Regions from separate parts of the Homo sapiens genome. Here all the other regions are linked to region 1. The links are contacts of gene promoters, found by promoter capture Hi-C in blood cells and fetal thymus (Javierre and others, 2016). All regions are on one chromosome and are shown on one strand. The core of a region is centred on a gene start or on the middle of the fragment in contact, and the rest is flanking DNA. Distances in the headings are between cores, read along the strand shown. Region 1 holds the start of PITPNM2 (phosphatidylinositol transfer protein membrane associated 2). Region 2 has its middle 3.5 kb from the start of HIP1R. Region 3 overlaps VPS37B (VPS37B subunit of ESCRT-I).

Region 1 (4,327 bases), core at 1,256-3,755:
CCTCTAGACACGGAGGAAGGCAACGGGTCCCCATAACAGAGAATGTATAAGCAATCAACTCTGGACAAGAAGGGCTCTCAGTGGTGATCTAGGCCAACCCTCTCACTATTTTCCTAAGTACCTTACTGTGCAGCAAAGCATTGGGGATGCAGAGAAACGTGATACAGCACTAACCGCCCAGGAGCTCACAGTCTAGTGGGGGGCACGTGTAAACAGATAAGGGCCATTCTGTGTGGCAAGCAAATCAGACTAGGGTGGTTCGAAAATCAGAAGAGGGACCAATTCCACCTGCGAAGGCCAAGACTGGGTCTCAACCAGTGAAGAGTTGAAGGCACCTGGGGAGAGGGAGGGCATGGGAGCACCATGCCTTTGAAAGCCTCTAGGTAGCCTGAGAGGACTGCAGCTTAGGGTATGAATGAAATGGTAGGAGAGGAGGCAGAAAAGGTAGACAGGACCCAGATCCCAGGGGGCCTTAGATACGCAGAGGAATTCTTTCAGATTCCATAAGGTGCAACCAAAACCAAGAGAAACCAAGTGACTTAGTTAAGCTCCTGTAGCAAGTTATGGGAAAAGCCAGGCCTGGAACCCCAGTCTCTCGACTCCCGCAGTCCACTTCTCTCCCCTGCTGCCTCCCACGCCTGAGCAGCTGGGGAAGACCAGGAGAGAGAATGGCCCATTCAACACTCACTACCCAGAGAATCTGGAGTCTTTGCCTGGCCATCTTCAGGGCAGAGGATGTACTGTCCTGTTCACTTGGCAAGCCACTCCTTACAAGAAAAACAGCCCTTCCTAACTCATTGTGTTTCTCTCTGCAGTGGGAGAGGGCTGGAAGTCCATTCCAACCACAGAATACAGTCCCTTCATGGAAGGAAAGTAATTTAACAGCAACAGTCCAGGAATCAGACAAGCTATGGTCCCAGAGGCAAGCGTTGGAGGGGCCTTCTGCTCCACGGAGACACTGACTCCACGCAGGGTACTGACCAGGGCAGGAGACCAGAGATGAATCAACTCCAGCCCGGGAGCTCACCGTCCAGCAGGGGAGATAAGGCAGATGGAAAAGTAACTATAAAATAAGGCAGACGGTGATAAGAGTTACACAGGAGATACAGATAGCAGGCAGTGGGAGTTCAGAGCAGAGAGGAGTCTGGGGGATGGATGTTAGGGGAGATTCAGATGAAGGGGAGCACTTACTGCCTTCCCTCCAGAAGTGGGGGGTCTATCCTAGCAGCTCTGGTCACTCCCAGGTGGAGGCCGGGGAGAGAGCTGGTTGTGGACAAAGACAGATGTTCCAGTGAGGTCTCCTTTGAAGAATCCCGACTCTGGGTGGGGGAGGCAGGTAGGCCGGGGTGTTTGGAGAGGCACCCAGCCCACACTTCAGTGGGAGGGAGAGGAGTGCAGGATGTCTCTGCAGGAGCAAGTCGGTGGAAAGGGGACAAGCCTGGAGGACTTGCCTTGAAATGACATTTGCACCGCGCGCACTATGTTCACCTGGAGTGGCCGTTTGGGATTTCTTGCGGGGAGGCAGTGCACACTGGGGCGGGGGACACTGAACTTTCCCTCTCCCCAAGGCCCCCCGATCAGCCCTGCCACGGATAAGAAAGGATTCGGGGTGGGAAGAAGACAGAGCCGGCACCCCATTACCACACGAAGGGGGCACTGAGGATGGAGACGGGCCACACCCCAACCCTGGGCCCCCGACAAGCAGAGGCCACGGCCCGGGCCTGGGGACGTTCAGCTGGAGGCGGGAAGCAGAGAAGGCGGGCCGGGGGCTCACCTCCGCTTCCTCCCGATAGCCCCTTCCTCGCCCTGGCACCGGCACTGCCCACGCCTGCCCCCCGACCGCTATGACACTTGTCCCTGGCGGGGGTCCCCCACGCGGTCGCGACCGACGGAAATTCGGAAATCAGCGTTTCGGGCACGGATCCAGGGCCGGCGACTCACTGAGGCCAGGCTCGGGCGGTCTCCCGAGCGGGGCTCCCGTACGCCACACCCTCCTCCCTGCCCGGGTCTCCGCTCCCTCCTCCAGCCCCCGGCGGGCTGGAGGCTCGGCGGGCGGGCGGGCCGGGGCCTCTCTGGGAGCCGCCGCCCAGATCCCCAGGTCCCCGGCCAGCGCCCGGCACTGCGGGACTCACCGCGGGCCTGCGGAGCGGCCGCCCGGACGCACTCACCCCGCTCGGCGCGGCCGCGGGCTCTGTCCTCTTCGGGGCCCCGGCTGGGCCGCCGCCACCTCACGCCGCCTCACGGGGAGCGCCCGCCCCGCGGCCCCGGCCCGGCCGGCTGCGCCCCGCGCGCCCCCGCCGCCTGCTGGCCCCGGGCGAGCGGCAGAGCCCCGGCGGGCATTGCTCCCGAGCGTCGCAGGCGGGCGGCGGCGGCGCACGTGCTGGCGGGCGGCTCTCGCTGAGGCGGCCGCGAGCTGAGAAGGAAGCGCCGGGCGGGCGGCCGGGGCCGGCTGGACAGCTCTACGCCGCGGCGCCGCGGTGCCCCGCGCACCCCAGCGGCCGCTGCTGCCCGCGCGCGCCGGGCCGGGCTCGCATTCCCTCAGTGGCGGCGGCGCCTCCTCAGGCCGCGCGGGGGAGCGGCGGCGGCGGCGGCGGGGGCGCGTCCCTGCGGAGTCTCGGCCCGGCCCCGCCGCCTCCGCCGGAAGAAACCTCTCCGACTCGGGCAGCCCGCCTGGTTCCTCAGACCTGCCGCGGCGACCCCGCTCCTCCCCGGCTCGCCCGTGTCCTCAGGGCCCGGGACTGGACTCGGGGGCGGCGGCGCGGATCCCCGCCCCGGGCTCCTCGCCCACCGTCCGCAGCAGCCGAGCGCACTCGGGGGCGGGAACCGGCCGACTTGCGGCCACTGTGACTCTTAAAACAGCCTCATTTTAAAAAATGAAGTTTCTTAGGAGCGAAATGGTAAACCAGGGAGGGCAGAGCGCAGCGGGCAGCTCACCGAAGCCCAGCCCCGGGCGCGGTGCTCGCCACACGGTGGGTCCGCGCTCTCCCCTCAGGACGCCCGGGCCGCGGCCCAGGGAACGGCAGAGCCGGGAGCGCAGCCGTCCCGGTCCCCACCTCAGGGAGTAGCTGGAAGAGGATCACGAACAGTTTAATCCGGATGATCTGGCACGACAGGGCTCTCCAATGGGAAGAGCCCCCGGTGGGGGAGCGCCTGGTGACATTCCTTAAAAACATGAGGTGTTTGTTAGGTTGAGCCAGGGTGGACTTGTTTGGCAAAATCTGAAGTCATGGAACTAAAGAGAGCACACCTAAAACTTAGTGATGTGTGACCCATCCCTACTTGTCACCTTATAAGGCTGAGGAGACGGCGGTGCTCCCCTGGAGGAGAGAGGACAAGCTAAAATTAAGGCGGCCTAGATGACTCCAGATGAAGCCGGGGAGGCCGAGCCCCTGACAGCTGCTCACCTCCTGGGGTCACGGCAGAACCCAACTGAACGGGCCAGGAAGGCCATCGTTCCCGACTCGCCTCCAGGTGCCCCTGACCATGACCACGCAGAGGAGGACCAAGGCGTACCACCATCACCTAGAACGCTTCAGCTCCTTCCCTCCACCAAGAGGTGCCCTAGGATCCATCCAGAAAGATCTGCGGAGCCCACAGAGTCCCAACGGGAACTGTGCTCCTGGATGGACGCCCCTTAACCCATAACTCAAGGACTTCTCTATGCCTGGGACTTAAAATCACCAACAACCCGCTCCTGCAGCCAGCTAGCAGAAATAAACACACAAAGGCCACACGCCAGTTCACAGCCACAAGTATTTATTGAGTGCCTGTAGTGCAAGAAAGAGAGATGGTCCCTGCTCCCGCGGAGCTTACAGCTTCACGACTCCAGCATCTGGCTAGATTCAGAAACAACTGCAGCAAGCACTTGTCTACCCACCAGCAGCACTGTAAAAAGCACATTTCTCACATTATCGGTCACTGTTACAGTGAAATTGTTAGATGTAAAAATTATCCTTGAAATCTGTAGTCATAGAGATGACATGGTACATAATGTCCAGCAAATGCACATTTATGGCTTGATTCCTCACATATCTGAGGGGTCTATGGAAATAAAGTACAAATCAGGCAGAAAAGACTTAGTAACACAGTTCCTAAGAATACTGGGGTAGTAGTTTATTATCAAACTACCATAGAGCTCTTGGCAGGGCAGGAAATTATTTCCAGCAAAATTTGTGCAATATAGTGGATTTAATCAAACCTGCAACTGTCAACCATACATGGTCCCTCATGACAGGTAAATATAATCTACCTGTCTGAATGGTAAAAGGCTACAGGTGTGCATTTATTTTTTAAAGCTTCTTAAAGACTCATAGCACAAGTGGCACAT
Region 2 (4,327 bases), core at 1,240-3,739, 320 kb before region 1:
TAAAAGCAGCTTTACCCCAAAAGTGCCAAGAGAATGCGTCTAGAACTTCTTGGCTGTGTGGGATAAGGTTGGCTCCATACCTTCCAGGAAGGAGACTGAAGACTGAATCCTTGTTATGGTCTGGCAAACTGATCCTGGAGTTTTCTCCTGTGGCTTTGTGTGGTTTGACACCTGTAGCTGGGGTGGTGGGTTTGCAGTGTTGTACTTTTGTTTCTCTTGAGCCATTTGATGATGATTTTGTTAGGACACATTGCAGGAAAGTTCATTATTCTAGGCCTTCAACAGAATAATCTTAGCAACCTCCAGTGTGATAGAGAACAGAGTGAACAGGATCAAAATAAGAAACCAGACACATTCATCAAGACTGCAGCTGACAAGGAGGTTTAAAAACCAGAATGGGGCCAGGTGCAGTGGCCCACGCGTGTAATCCCAGCACTTAGAGAGGCCAAAGCTCGCACATCATTTGAGATCAGGAGTTCGAGACCAGCCTGGCCAACATGGCGAAACACCTCTCTACTAAAAATACAAAAATTAGCTGGGCGTGGTGGTGGGTGCCTGTAATCCCAGCTACTCAGGAGGCTGAGGCACAAGAATCACTTCAACCTGGGAGGCAGAGGTTGCAGTGTGCTGAGATTGAGCCATGCCTCCAGCCTGGGCAACAGAGCCAGACTCTGTCTCAAACAAACAAACAAACAAACAAAAAACACCCAGAATGGTCTTTGAGAGAAGTTGATTGAATGAAAAGTGTACATGAATCAGTTCTTTAAAGGATGATGTCTGGGTTCTCAGCCAGATGCATGCTTAAGAAACCCAACCACAACAACAACAAAAAGAAACCCAACAAAAAATCAAAGAATTTTGAGCACACAGTAGGTGCTTTGCTGGCCACTGGAGACACAACAATGAGCAAAGCAGACAATCTAGTCGTAGAAACACACTAATCTAAGAATCCCATACATAGTTCACAAGAGACTGGTTAGTGCTACAAAAGAAAGCTTTGAGATATGATGACAGCTTATAATAGGGACTCAGGTGAAGGGTGGAGTGTTAAGAGAATGCTTCCTTAAAGAAGTGACATCTGAGCCAAGAGTTAAAGACAAGTGGATGCTAAGTAGGGCGAACGGGAAGCAGAAGAGAATTCCAGGCAGTAGGAACAGCATGTGCAAAGGCTCTGAGGTGGGAGGGAACATGACGCATCTGGGACCTGATGGGCCAGGATGGTGCAAGATGAAGCCAGGGACAGAGGCTGGGGCCAGATCATGCATACGAGTCGATGAGTCAGTGTGGGTGTGGTAGCATACCATGTTTTAGTGGGCCAGATGATGTAAACTCTCCTGTGCATCTTGGATTTTCCTTAAAACGAGGTCTTATTTGTATTCCAATTGCTTTGCTTTTGTAATAGGGGTGAGCAGGAATTCAACAGCCCTCGAGATACACCAAAACAGAACCCTGATTCTGATGGCATGAAGAATCTCAGGCCGGGAGCAGTGGCTCCTGCCTGTAATGCCAGCACTTTGGGAGGCTAAGGTGGGAGGATTGCTTGAGTCCAGGAGTTCAAGACCAGTCTGGGCAACGTGGTGAGACCCCCGTCTCTACAAAAAATTTAAAAATTAGCCAGGCATGGTGGTGCACACCTGTGGTCCCAGCTATTCTGGAGGCTGAGGTGGGAGGATCATTTGAGCCCAGGAGGTTGAGGCTGCAATGAGCCATAATCCAGCCACTGCACTCCAGCAGGGGTAACAGAGCAAGCAAGACCCCGTATCCCCCCCGCCAAAAAAAAAGCCAGTCAGTGACAGGGACAATAGTAGACCAGGCCTCCTGCCTGAAGATGTTAGAGAGATGAACCAGAAAAATTAAGAGTGGGGAAGTTTGGGCCAGGCACAGTGGCTCACGCCTGTAATCCCAACACTTTGGGAGGTCGAGGCAGGTGGATCACCTGAGGTTGGGAGTTCAAGACCAGCTTGACCAACATGGTGAAACCCTGTCTCTACAAAAAATACAAAAATTAGCCAGGCTGTGGTGGCGCACGCCTGTAATCTCAGCTACTCAGGAGGCTGAGGCAGGAGAATTGCTGGAACCCAGGAAGCGAAGGTTGCTGTGAGCTGAGATCATGCCACTGCACTCCAGCCTGGGTGACAGAGGGCAACCCTGTCTCAAAAACAAAAACAAACAAACAAAAGATTGGGGAAGTTTGTATCCTTATGTCCTCAGTGATACTCTTTCGTGAGATCAGCTGTATGTTGAAGTATACCAAATGAGGTATTTGTTTACTCACTCTTTCAGCCCTTCATTTGACATACATATTGAACATTGCTATGTGCCAGGTGCCCTGCTAGGCACTGAGTACATAAAACTGAGTAATACAGGGTGGCCCTCTAATAGCTCAAAATCTTACCTACAAGCACATAAAGTACAATCCCTTAGAGATGTGTTAGGAGAGTGCTCTCAGGTCCTAAACAGCAAGCCTGAGGTAGTATAGTACTGAAAGTCATAGACCACAAAATGTAGTCCAAATGGCATGGGTGTTGCGGGCACTGGCCTTGAAATCAGGCACATCTGGGTCTGGATCCCGAATGCAGCGTTTACCAGTTGTGTGAACCTGGGCTAAACTCTCTGAACCTGAGCTTGTTTGTTGGTCTGTAAAAAATACCATCAAGAGGCCAGGTGCAGTGGCTTCGGCCTGTAATCCCAGTACTTTCAAGGTGGGCGAATTCACTTGAGCCCGGGAATTTGAGACCAGCCTGGACAACTTAGCAAGACTCTGTCTCTACAAAAAAACTTTAAAAATTAGCTGGGCATGGCCAGGCGCAGTGGCTCATGCCTGTAATCCCAGGACTTTGGGAAGCCGAGGTGGGTAGATCACGAGGTCAAGAGATCGAGACCATCCTGGCCAACATGGTGAAACTCTGTCTCTACTAAAAATACAAAAATTAGCTGGGCGTGGTGGCGGGCGCCTGTAGTCCCAGCTACTTGGGAGGCTGAGGCAGGAGAATTGCTTGAACCCGGGAGGCAGAGGTTGCAGTGAGCCAAGATCGTGCCACTGCACTCCAGCCTGGTGGCAGAGTGAGACTCCATCTCAAAAAAAAAAAAAAATTAGCTGGGCATGATAGTGCATCCCTCCAGTTCCAGCTACTTAGAAGGCTGAGGTGGGAGGATCACTTGAGCCCAGGAGGCAGAAATTGCAGTGAGCTATGATTATGCCACTGCATTCCGGCCTGGGTAACGAAGCCAGACCCTGTCTCAAAAAAAATAAATAAATAAAAATAAAGTTGTTGATGCTTTATTTTTTATTTATTTATTTTGAGAGAAGGTTTCACTCTGTTGTCTAGGCTGGAGTGCAGTGGCATGATCTCAGCTTACTGCAACCTCTGCCTTGCAGGCCTAAGTGATCCTCCCACCTCAGCCTCCTGGGTAGCTGGGACTACAGGCACGCCATCACGGCCAGCTAAGTTTTTCGTATTTTTTGGTAGAGATGGGGTTTCACCATGTTGCCCAGAATGGTTTCGAACTCCTGAGCTCAAGTGATCCACCTGCCTCAGCCTCCCAAAGTGCTCGGAATACAGGCGTGAGCCACTGTGCCGAGCCTCATCAACAACTTTAAAGAAGAATAAGTGAGATACTGTTTAACAGATGCTGAGCCTGGTGCCCGGCACAGTAATAGGCTCTGTGATTATTTAAAAAGCCAGTTGCTAATGGGAAGTCTCTGTGGCAGATGTGCTAGACCTACAGGGGCTGTTGCCTGGTTGAAAAGGGATGCTGTATATGCGTGAAGGGTCACAGGAGAACCACTTTTGTTCCGTGTGGAAAAAGGAGTGTGAGAAACAGCTGGAGTACCGCAAAAAGCCCCTTTACTGTGGTCTTTATTAGAGCACAGCTATCAACTAAGTTGACTAAGTTACATATGAAGGGTTTAGCCCAGTGCCTGCCAAATAATAAGCATTCAGTACATATCAGCTATTGTGATTCTACCGTTATTCTGATAAAGAAGCTTTTTAGTGATTGGAATTAGAGAAAACAGGATTAATTTCTCCTTTTGGTGCAGTGACAGGAGAGTCTTGGCAAATGTTATCTTTTGGGGTCAGCTCTAGCTCTTGGGCTGGAGGGTGAGGAATCAGTTAAAGAAAAGGGTCCCTGGCGGGGTGTGGTGGCTCACGCCTGTAATCCCAACACTTTGGGAGGCCGAGGCGGGCGGATCACCTGAGGTCGGGAGTTCGAGACCAGCCTGACCAACACGGAGAAACTCTGTCTCTACTAAAAATACAAAATTAGCCAGGCGTGGTGGCACATGCCTGTAATTCCAGCTATTTGGGAGGCTGAGGCAGGAGAA
Region 3 (4,327 bases), core at 929-3,428, 280 kb before region 1:
TCCTGAAGACACCCTCTTAAGACACAGAACATGCCCTGTACGTGACTGCTGTTTATGAGACTGGTGACCAAGAGGGTAAGAGGCCCCACCTGTGCCAGGGGCCCTGGACAGGCAGAGATTTTGTCTTCAGCTTCAAAAACAGACGTCCCAGCCAGCTTCCCTGCTGGAACTTTGATCACTGATGTTTCAGAACCAGACATCATGAACATCCACATCCCCAAGTAAATAAGTGACAGGCCTGTTATTAATAATTCTCTATTTATTAAAAAGGGTCCTACAGCTTTACAGCCACAGCACCGGACACGGCCCTGGACAGCGACGGCGAGCCCGGCCAGGGGCCGCTTTGCAACTTCAATGCCAAGCTCACGTCTGGCTGCGACCGTGGCAGGCTGTGGCATCCCCGACAGCGGCCGGTGGCGGAGGTATGGGGGCGGGTGGCACCGCTCACTCGAGATTCACAGAACATGGCAAGCCCGCCTGACTGGCATGGCAGTGAATCGTCCTGTACAGCTTCATTTCCTTTAAGAAAACAGTTACAGTAGAGTTCAAGTCCGAGAGCAGGAATGTACGGTCACTGAGGACAAAAGGCAGTGGCCTGGCCCGTGGCCCAGACCCCGCTTCAGTTCTGCCTTCTGTCACCCTGGCGGCTAGGCACAGGTCGGGGCCCTGGATGCCCGACAAGTGACAGGGGAGGGGCGGGCCAGAAGGTCCACTGGTAAGCACCTCGGCCTTTTCCGTCAACAGGTGCCACTGCCCCCTGCTGGGCCCTGGGCCTTCAGCACACATGGCACGTGAAGATGAGGTCCCACAGGGGTGGGGGAAGAGCAGGTGCAGACGGTTGGAGTGCAGCCCCGTCCCTCAATCCCATGGGGCGGGCTTTCGCCAAACCCCTAACGTTGCCCACCCTGAGGCCCAGCCACCAGCCACCCAGGGGCAGAGGATATTGGCTAAGGGTAGCCTGGGTCAAGGCGGCCGGACGTCTTGACCACCTGTAACAGGGCAATGAACTTGGACAAGCCCTTCAGAGAAAGCAGAGCCGGGGCCTTGCCCAGCCCCTAGCAGGTGTGAGTCCCGGCACCTGGGGAAGCTAAGGCACAGCACGGACACCCGAGGGGGGGGCACCGTGCACTGCTTGCACAAAAGGAAATTGCATCCACTTCATCGGCATTTCGATCTGCTCAAGACAGTATCTGCATTTTTTATAAAATTTCCCTGAATGGTCTTGGGAGTGTCAAAAAAGTTTTTTCAATATAAAACAGGAAAATCACACACGTAGTAAAAATATTGGGGGATTATTTCTTCATAGAAACCTTCAGGGCCGGCTCCAGGCAGGCGGGAGAGGAGGAGCTGGGGACACAATTTGCTGTGCAAAGTCCCACTCGTGCGCTCCCCTCCCACACCAGTGGCCGTTCTCCGGCCTCTGGACTCGGCAGTGGGCCCAGTGCAAACTTTGCTTGTGGCTCTGAAGCAAGAGCAGCAGCCAGGTCAGGCGGTGACTATGGTGACCTCTCCCCAACAGATTCAGTGAGCAACAACGCAGCCACAGGTGGTGGCCCAGCCACGGCGCTCTTCCAGGCCGGCCGGCGCCCACCCGCCCTCACCAGGGCTGCAGTGGCCGGTGGGTGAGACACATAGGACTGTCTTTCGAAAATAAAATAAGTATCATGAACCATGCTCATTAAATAAAGCTGCAACAGAAGGACCACGATTCTAAATGGGACTGGGGGAGAGGCCTATTTCTTCCCAAACATGAGTTCATCAACGCTAAGATACTTAGAAATCACACGGATAATGCAAACCGATGCAACGCACAGGTGTCAGGCTGTAACCCGGCACACACAACTGCCTTGATGCCCAAAGCCTGGGCTCCTACTACTCACCACTGACCTACAGTTCTAAAATCAGACAGACACGCTGGCCCAGGGCCCCAGAGCCCTTGGCACAGAGCGGACCTCCAGCCTCCTTCCCGTGAGCAGAGCACAACACGCCAGGTGGAAGAAGTCTCCCGGGAAGGACCGCGCCGGCGCTCACTGGAGGATGAAACCCGGCTGGTGTGGAGGGAGCCGGGGCGGGGGTCTCTGAGGGAGAGGTGGCGGATATGGGGACACGAACTGCGAAGAGAATCCTTGCTGAGTGGGGAGGCCCACGCGGGGGGGCAGGGGCGGGCACTGTAATCCTGGGTACGGCACGGCCTGTCCCGAACTCATGGCCGCAGTAAACGGGGTGGCTAAGCGTCCCGCAGGCACCGGGGGTGGTGGGGGGGGGATGCGCCGAGGTGCAACGGCAGGAGGCCCACTGGCCTCTGGGGCAGGGTAGGGAAGGGGGGCGGTAGGTGCCAGTTCGGGCAGCCTGGGGGGCAGCGGGGCCAGGGCCTGTGGGAGTCTCTGCCCCTTTAGGACCATCTCCTGGAGCTTCTCGATTTTCACCCGTCGCATGTGGGCCAGTTTCCGTTTGCTCTGATAGACATCAATGAAGGAATCCAGAGGAAGTTCTCCATCCAGAAACTTCTCTGCCATGTTCTGAAAGAGGCAGAAACCTGGTTACAGGGACAGCCAGATGGGGAGGATGCTCCCTTCGTGGTCTAGGCACAAGGAGAGGCAACGCCCAGCTGCTTCCAACACTGCCCCCTCCCTGTAACCACCCAGAGGGCCTCGCTCCTGCTCCAGATCCCAGAGGTCATGGGCTCAGGCTTCAGCATGAGCTGCCACTAGGTGGAGAGGACGACAGCCCTGCTGCGCACCCCACCACCAGCGTGACAGGCAGAGGAGCTGGCCTTTGGGTGAGGGCTCCGACTCCTGGGTCCCAGGCCTCTCTCGAGCCCGCTGGAGTCCAACACCTCCTTGCTTCCACCCGGCTGCACCCTGACTGACAGACTCGCCCTGGGTGGGTAAGCAAGACAGAAACACCTGTGCCCCCAGGGCTTCAGAGTTCATCGAGCCCAGCCCTATCTTGGCAAGACCCTGCCGGCCCCAGCCTGCAACAACTGCACAACATTCGACCTTGACTCATTTCCTTATCGCCTGGCGAGGCTCAAGGCTCTAATGCGCAGCTGGACGTGTCCCAGAAGCTCTGTAGCCTCCTCCCAGCTGGCCCTTGAACGACGGCACGTGGTAATCCGCCACTGGCCCCAGGGGCCGGCGTTCACAGGGTGGCACGCATGCCCTCTCTTGGCCCTCGCTCGGACCTGCCCTCACTCACCCCGCTGCTCCCTGGACCCCTGCCTGGCACTTTCCCCAGCACACAGGCCAGGCTGCCTGCTGGTATACAGCCCGTACACCTGGGAGGCACCACTCCTGGCCGTGGCGGTGTGGCACTCACGGTCCCTGGAGGCAGCGGGCCCACGGACTGCCCAAAGCGCCCCAAGGATTCCACCAAGGCTGGTGGGCTTTACCTCAGTGTCTTCCTCAATCTTGGCCCCTTCTGCCTGAAGAAGTGCTAACAGGGTCTCCAAGGAAGCACTGCTAGACTGTCTGTCTGGAAAAAAAGCAAGAGGTATGACAAAAGTGAGAGGTGTCCAGGTAAAGCCCTTCATGATGCCAACCACGGCAGGATTGCACCTTCCTTTCCAGGAAGCTGAATGTGAAAGGCTTGAAAACCTACAGGGGAACAAGTGCACCAAGCCAGTGCCCAGGGGCCAACATCCCATGTCAGAGCAACCTGTGTCACCAGCTGCTTCTAGAACCAGCTGTTTTCAAATATGGGGCAGTGACATTCTCATCATGCCACTTTGTATTTCCTTTATGTTTTGAGTGGTAACTTACATCGAGTATACACATCTCAAGTGTGTAAGTCAAATTTCCACGTGTTTAACCGCCAACCACCACCCCCCAGATCCAGACACAGAACCTTTCCACCGGGCGCCCTCACGCCCACTGCACCCGCCAGATAACCCCTACGCTGGCCTCCACCACCACAGAGGAGGTCCGCCTGGTCTTGACTCCACATCCTGGAATCAGAGAGTACAGGTCATACTCTCCTGGCTTCTTGCACTCAGCACCGCGTCTCTGAGACCCTGCTCAGGTCTGTGAATCAGTTCGTTTCTTTCCAATGCTGTGTAGTGTTCCATTGTGTAAACAGACTTTATGTGCCCATCACTCTGTAGACGGACATTTTTATTGTTTCCAAATTTTATTATAAGGTAATAAAGATACAACATTCTTGTACCTATCTTCTGAGAGACATTAATATCCACTTCTGTTGGGTATACACCCAGGAGCAGAGCTGCTGTGCAGCGCATACACACTCTTCATTCTAGCAGGTGCTACCCAACAGCCTTCCCCAGGTGAAATGAGAAAAGGAGGTGGCTGTGGCAGTGCAGCCTGCAAGC

Evidence for each region. Contacts are between HindIII fragments. The CHiCAGO score rates a contact against its expected background, and 5 or more counts as called.
Region 2: a contact is called between a fragment that was not itself captured here and the fragment with the promoter of PITPNM2 in region 1, in 1 of 17 cell types (M1 macrophages). The highest score is 5.3, in M1 macrophages.
Region 3: a fragment that was not itself captured here is called in contact with the fragment with the promoter of PITPNM2 in region 1 in 1 of 17 cell types (fetal thymus); the score reaches 5.3 in fetal thymus.

Annotation. Positions count from the first base shown.
Region 1 is chr12:123,148,585-123,152,911 of GRCh38, forward strand. It overlaps PITPNM2 (phosphatidylinositol transfer protein membrane associated 2), which reads right to left and starts at 2,506. Exons shown (of 26, transcript NM_020845.3): 1 at 2,169-2,506. It also overlaps a transcript of MPHOSPH9 not described here. RefSeq lists silencers at 2,060-2,149, 2,250-2,389, 2,410-2,669, 2,690-2,889. The HindIII fragment of the contact is 4,737 bases long and covers 1-4,293 here.
Region 2 is chr12:122,829,806-122,834,132 of GRCh38, forward strand. No RefSeq gene overlaps it. Among named protein-coding and RNA genes, the nearest start is that of HIP1R, 3.5 kb to the right of the region's middle. RefSeq lists a silencer at 1-83. The HindIII fragment of the contact is 2,993 bases long and covers 994-3,986 here.
Region 3 is chr12:122,865,089-122,869,415 of GRCh38, forward strand. VPS37B (VPS37B subunit of ESCRT-I) reads right to left here. Exons shown (of 4, transcript NM_024667.3): 3 at 3,392-3,474; 4 at 242-2,519. The coding sequence ends at 2,028. It overlaps LOC124903039 (a long non-coding RNA gene), which reads left to right. Exons shown (of 2, transcript XR_007063500.1): 2 at 1-269. Among named protein-coding and RNA genes, the nearest start is that of VPS37B, 29 kb to the right of the region's middle. The HindIII fragment of the contact is 5,724 bases long and covers 1-4,327 here.